Linked DNA regions of Homo sapiens: region 1 is linked to region 2. The links are contacts of gene promoters, found by promoter capture Hi-C in blood cells and fetal thymus (Javierre and others, 2016). All regions are on one chromosome and are shown on one strand. The core of a region is centred on a gene start or on the middle of the fragment in contact, and the rest is flanking DNA. Distances in the headings are between cores, read along the strand shown.

Region 1 (2,700 bases), core at 21-2,520, 180 kb after region 2:
CAAAGTGTGGTTCCCAGACCACCAGCGCTGGCTGATCAAAATTTATGAAGAATGGTCCCAGGCAGGTTCGATTTTATCTATAATTCTCATTTCTTGAAAAAAAAGCAAGTAAATTTAATAAAATATTAATGCCACAAAGTTGGGTTGTAAATACATAGATGTTTGTCACAGCATTTTATATATTTTTCTATATGCTTGAAGTATTTCATAACTTTTTTTTTTAAAGAAGAAATTAAAAGGCAGGAGACTCACCTCTCCTCCACCTGGGCTCTAGGTTTGGGATAACCCATTTATCAGCTGGAACCCAGAGGAATGTGAGGGCATCACGAAGATGAGTATGGCAGCCAAGAACCTGTGGCTCCCAGACATTTTCATCATTGAACTGTGCGTATCAAGGGCTGGTCAGAGGGAAGTCCCATCTCCTGGTAGCCACAGAGATCACAGTTTACCATTGGGGCCACTGTAAGTGGTCTTTAGATGGCTAAGAAACAACCAGAGAGATAAGAAGAGAAACTGAGCCAGGCGCAGTGGCTAATGCCTGTAATCCCAGCACTTTGGGAGGCCAAGGTGGGTGGATCACTTCAGTTCAGGAGTTTGAGACCAGCCTGGGCAACATGGTGAAACCTCATCTCTTAAAAAAAAAAAAAAAAAAAAAATTAGCCAGGCCTGGTGGTGCGCCTGTAGTCCCAGCTACTTGGGAGGCTGAGGCTGAGACAGGAGGATCATTTGAGCCCAGGACATGGAAGTTGCAGTGAGCTGAGAGCATGCCACTCTACTCCAGCCTGGGTGACAGAGCAAGATCCTGTCTCAAAAAAAAAAAAAAAAAAAAAAGAGAGAGAGAAACTGCAGCACCTGCCTCTTGCGTTATCTCTCCTCCAGCATGGATGTGGATAAGACCCCAAAAGGCCTCACAGCATATGTAAGTAATGAAGGTCGCATCAGGTATAAGAAACCCATGAAGGTGGACAGTATCTGTAACCTGGACATCTTCTACTTCCCCTTCGACCAGCAGAACTGCACACTCACCTTCAGCTCATTCCTCTACACAGGTAAGTTGCAGTGAGGTCTCAGGGATGGGGTGAATGAGAGCAACCAACAAATATAAAGAAACTATGAGTAAATGGTGACCAAGGAGTATGGGTGGGGAGAAGAATAAGGCTCTATGGATGCTAAAATATTTTCCATAAAGGCAGAACCCAAGTCTGTCTTGTTCCTTACCATCCCAAGCTCCTGGCAAGTTTCCTGGCATGTGGGAGGCACTCAAAAATATTTGTTGAAAGAAAGGATGGAAAAAGAGTGCAGTTGAGCCACCAGGAAACTATCTCCTTGAAAAATGATTCAGATGGTTCTCATTTTCAGTGGACAGCATGTTGCTGGACATGGAGAAAGAAGTGTGGGAAATAACAGACGCATCCCGGAACATCCTTCAGACCCATGGAGAATGGGAGCTCCTGGGCCTCAGCAAGGCCACCGCAAAGTTGTCCAGGGGAGGCAACCTGTATGATCAGATCGTGTTCTATGTGAGCTTGGAGGCTCTTACTCTTTCCTTCCTCCCGCACTTTTACCCTTGCCTAGAATGTCCATCAAATATGTATCTCCCAAGTTTCAGGGTCTCCCAATGTTACCCTCTCTCCTGGCTTCCCAGCCTCATTCTTCATCCTAAAGCTCAGGGCTCTGGCCTAACTGTCTCTTTGCAGGTTCTATACCAGATTCTAAAGCTGCATTCCCCACAGCTCCAGATCCCAGGGTGATATCAGGCCAAAGAAAAAGGCAGAGACAGAAATTGTCACTGCTATTCCTGGATTTGAGGGTTCCTCTGACCCCATAACTACTTACCACCCTCTCCTACCCCACCAGGTGGCCATCAGGCGCAGGCCCAGTCTCTATGTCATAAACCTTCTCGTGCCCAGTGGCTTTCTGGTTGCCATCGATGCCCTCAGCTTCTACCTGCCAGTGAAAAGTGGGAATCGTGTCCCATTCAAGATAACGCTCCTGCTGGGCTACAACGTCTTCCTGCTCATGATGAGTGACTTGCTCCCCACCAGTGGCACCCCCCTCATCGGTATGGCTCCTCCCACCTTTTGGAAGAGAAGGGTGGGAACTAACTCAGGAAGGGAGGTATTTTGGAAAAAGGAGGCCGTATGCCTGCCAGGGTGGGATTGGAAGAGAAGAAATTCTAGGTGGTGCCTCTGGCCCTCACTAGGCCCCCCTTCCCTCCAGGTGTCTACTTCGCCCTGTGCCTGTCCCTGATGGTGGGCAGCCTGCTGGAGACCATCTTCATCACCCACCTGCTGCACGTGGCCACCACCCAGCCCCCACCCCTGCCTCGGTGGCTCCACTCCCTGCTGCTCCACTGCAACAGCCCGGGGAGATGCTGTCCCACTGCGCCCCAGAAGGAAAATAAGGGCCCGGGTCTCACCCCCACCCACCTGCCCGGTGAGGGAAGTCACATTCCTCTTCCCCCACCTCCACTTCTCTGCTCCTGCCTCCTTCCCTGTCTCCCTCCCTCCACAGGTGACATTTGCAGCCCATGGCTGAGTCTCTGTCTTTCTGTAGGTGTGAAGGAGCCAGAGGTATCAGCAGGGCAGATGCCGGGCCCTGCGGAGGCAGAGCTGACAGGGGGCTCAGAATGGACAAGGGCCCAGCGGGAACACGAGGCCCAGAAGCAGCACTCAGTGGAGCTGTGGTTGCAGTTCAGCC
Region 2 (2,700 bases), core at 73-2,572:
CGACTTCCAGACCTCCTTCACATAAATCCAAATTCCTTCAGCCTTGGGAGTGAAGGAACCAACCAACCAGGTCTATAAACTGCAGGAGGCTGGTGGCTCACGCCTGTAATCTCAACACTTTGGGAGGCTGAGGTGGGCAGACTGCCTGAGGTGAGGAGTTCAAGACCAGCCTGGCCAACATGGTGAAACCCTGTCTCTACTAAATATACAAAAATTAGCTGGGCATGGTTGGCGGGTGCCTACAATCCCAGTGACTTGGGAGGCTGAGGCAGGAGAATCGCTTGAACCCAGGAGGTGGAGGTTGCAGTGAACTGAGATTGTACCACTGCATGCCAGGCTGGGCGACACAACGAGACTCTGCCTCAAAATAATAAATAAATAAATAAATAAATAAATAAATAAATAAATAAATAAAAAACAACAGGCTGGGTGCGGTGGTTGATGCCTGTAATCCCAGCACTTTGGGAGGTCGAGGCAGGCGGATCACCTGAGGTCAGGAGTTCGAGACCAGCCTGACCAACATGGTGAAACCCTGTCTCTAGTGAAAATACAAAAATTAGCTGGGTGTGGTGGTGCATGCCTGTAATCCCAGCTACTGGGGAGTCTGAGGCAGGAGAATCGCTGGAACCCGGGAGGCGGAGGTTGTGGTGAGCAGAGATCGTGCTATTGCACTCCCAGCCTGGGCAACAAGAGCGAAACTCCGTCTCAAAAAAATAAATAAATAAATAAACAAAATAAAATAAATAAACTGCAGGGGAGAGAAGTTGCAGCTCAAGTCAAGGGCACACCAGACAAATGCCATTTTGTTATGCAAGCTGATCTAACCTTATAGAGGGAAATGGAAGAGCTCAGAATGTCTAGTTGTCAGGGGAGAAAAAGGAAGTCAGGGAGTGACTTAGTCAGGTGGCCATTCCTATGATGGACTTCTATGTAGCCGTGGAAAATCATGTGGCAGCAGAACCCTGAATGATACGCTGGCAGAACCCACCTCCTGTGGCAGAGGCTGAAATGCATGTACTCAACTTTCTCAGCCGCCCCCGCCACAGGGCAAAGGCATGGAACATAACCTTGTTTAAGGAGATGTAAGAGGAAGTCTCCTTGGTGCTTTAGGAGAGGGTGTCCTGCTCAGTGGACAGGCCACAAGGAGAACATAAGCGTGTCCTTCCTTTGGACACGTGTCCTTCCTTTGGTTGGGTGCTTGAGCAGGCATCCTGTACCAGCAGGGGAAGGTGAGTACTGGCTGAGAGTGATACAGAGCCCCACACTGCTGAGCTGCACAAAAACCAACCCATGTGGGATAACAAAATCCCATCCTCCAAACCCCTTTTAGTCTGGTATTTTGTGTCTGCGGCAGAGAGCATCCCATCTGTTGGAGTCTGTGTGTGCAGATGCAAGAAAAACACAGCTGGGGTAAGTCAGTGTATTACAATGCTCGTCTCTGGGGGTAAATGGCTTATCATCCTGTTTTTGCCTTTATGCTTTTCTGGTGTGTGTGTGGTTTTTTTTTTTTAGGCTTTCCTGAAATTACAAGGAAATTTTAATTAGCAAGAAAAAAATTAAGGGAAGAGAAGGATAGAGTCCCTCATAAAGAGTGAATGGGCTCCCCACTCCAAAACATCAAGCCACCCATCGAAAGAAAGGGGTCTCAATTTGTGTTCTTAAGAAAAAATTTCCAGCTGGGCACAGTAGCTTGTGCCTGTAATCCCAGCACTTTGGGAGGCTGAGGTGGGCGGATTATCTGAGGTCAGAAGTTCGAGACCAGCCTGGCCAACATGGTGAAACCCTGTGTCTACTAAAAATACAAAAATTAGCCAGGCATGGTGGCACATGCCTGTACTCCCAGCTGCTCAGGAGACTGAGGCAGGAGAATCGCTTGAACCCCGGAGGCGAAGGTTGCAGTGAGCCAAGATTGCACCACTGTACTCCAGCCTGGGCGACAGAGCGAGACTCTGGCTCAAAAAAAGAAAAAAAGAATTTCCCAGAAGATGTTCTTGGTCCCATCTATTATACCTTACTAGGCTCTATTTTAACACCTACTTACAAAGTAGTAGCTCAACGTATCTTATGTATGACAGAATCTCAGTCAACACTTAGTTTAAGGCAAACAAAGATAGTCACAAAAAACACTAGTGTGAAAATAATTTCAAGATGAGGAGAAAAATCCTTAGCCCCCAAGTTCTCTCAATTCAGCTTTGAAGCCCAGGCTGAACCTGCGCTATTTAACCTTTTCTCAATATTTCTCCACAATTTAGACAGTGTGCTGGCAGTGCGGTTGCTGGCCTGAGTCCTGTCCCATCTCCTCCGCTTCCTTTTTTTTTAAATCCCACCAATTTTTACTGTTTGCTTTTTTTTTTTTTTTTTTTTTTTGACATGAGGTCTCACTCTGTCACCCAGGCTGGAGTGCAGTGGCGCTATCTCAGCTCACTGCAACCTCCGCTGCCTCCCAGGGTTAAATGATCCTTCCACCTCAAATTCCTTAGTAGCTGGGATTACAGGTGTGTGCCACCACTCCTGGCTAATTTTTTGTATTTTTGGTAGAGACGGCGTTTCGTCATGTTGCCCAGGCTGCTCTTGAACGCCTGAGCTCAGGCAATCTGCCCGCCTCGGCCTCCCAAACTGCTGGGATTACAGGCATGAGCCACCGTGCCCGGCCTACTCCACTTCCTATGGACTTTCCCTGAGACTTTGTCTCCTCATGTG

What was found. The method cuts DNA at HindIII sites, captures the fragments that hold promoters and counts their contacts. A CHiCAGO score of 5 or more calls a contact.
Region 1: a contact is called between the fragment with the promoter of HTR3E-AS1 here and a fragment that was not itself captured in region 2, in 1 of 17 cell types (M1 macrophages). The highest score is 7.4, in M1 macrophages.

The regions. Positions count from the first base shown.
Region 1 is chr3:184,103,908-184,106,607 of GRCh38, forward strand. It overlaps HTR3E-AS1 (HTR3E antisense RNA 1), which reads right to left and starts at 1,271. Exons shown (of 3, transcript NR_133658.1): 1 at 1,219-1,271; 2 at 253-481. It overlaps HTR3E (5-hydroxytryptamine receptor 3E), which reads left to right. Exons shown (of 9, transcript NM_001256613.2): 4 at 275-384; 5 at 880-1,049; 6 at 1,360-1,520; 7 at 1,858-2,062; 8 at 2,221-2,436; 9 at 2,557-2,700. The HindIII fragment of the contact is 6,162 bases long and covers 1-2,700 here.
Region 2 is chr3:183,921,667-183,924,366 of GRCh38, forward strand. The region is part of intron 29 of ABCC5 (ATP binding cassette subfamily C member 5); the gene reads right to left. Among named protein-coding and RNA genes, the nearest start is that of MIR4448, 36 kb to the left of the region's middle. The HindIII fragment of the contact is 3,947 bases long and covers 1-2,700 here.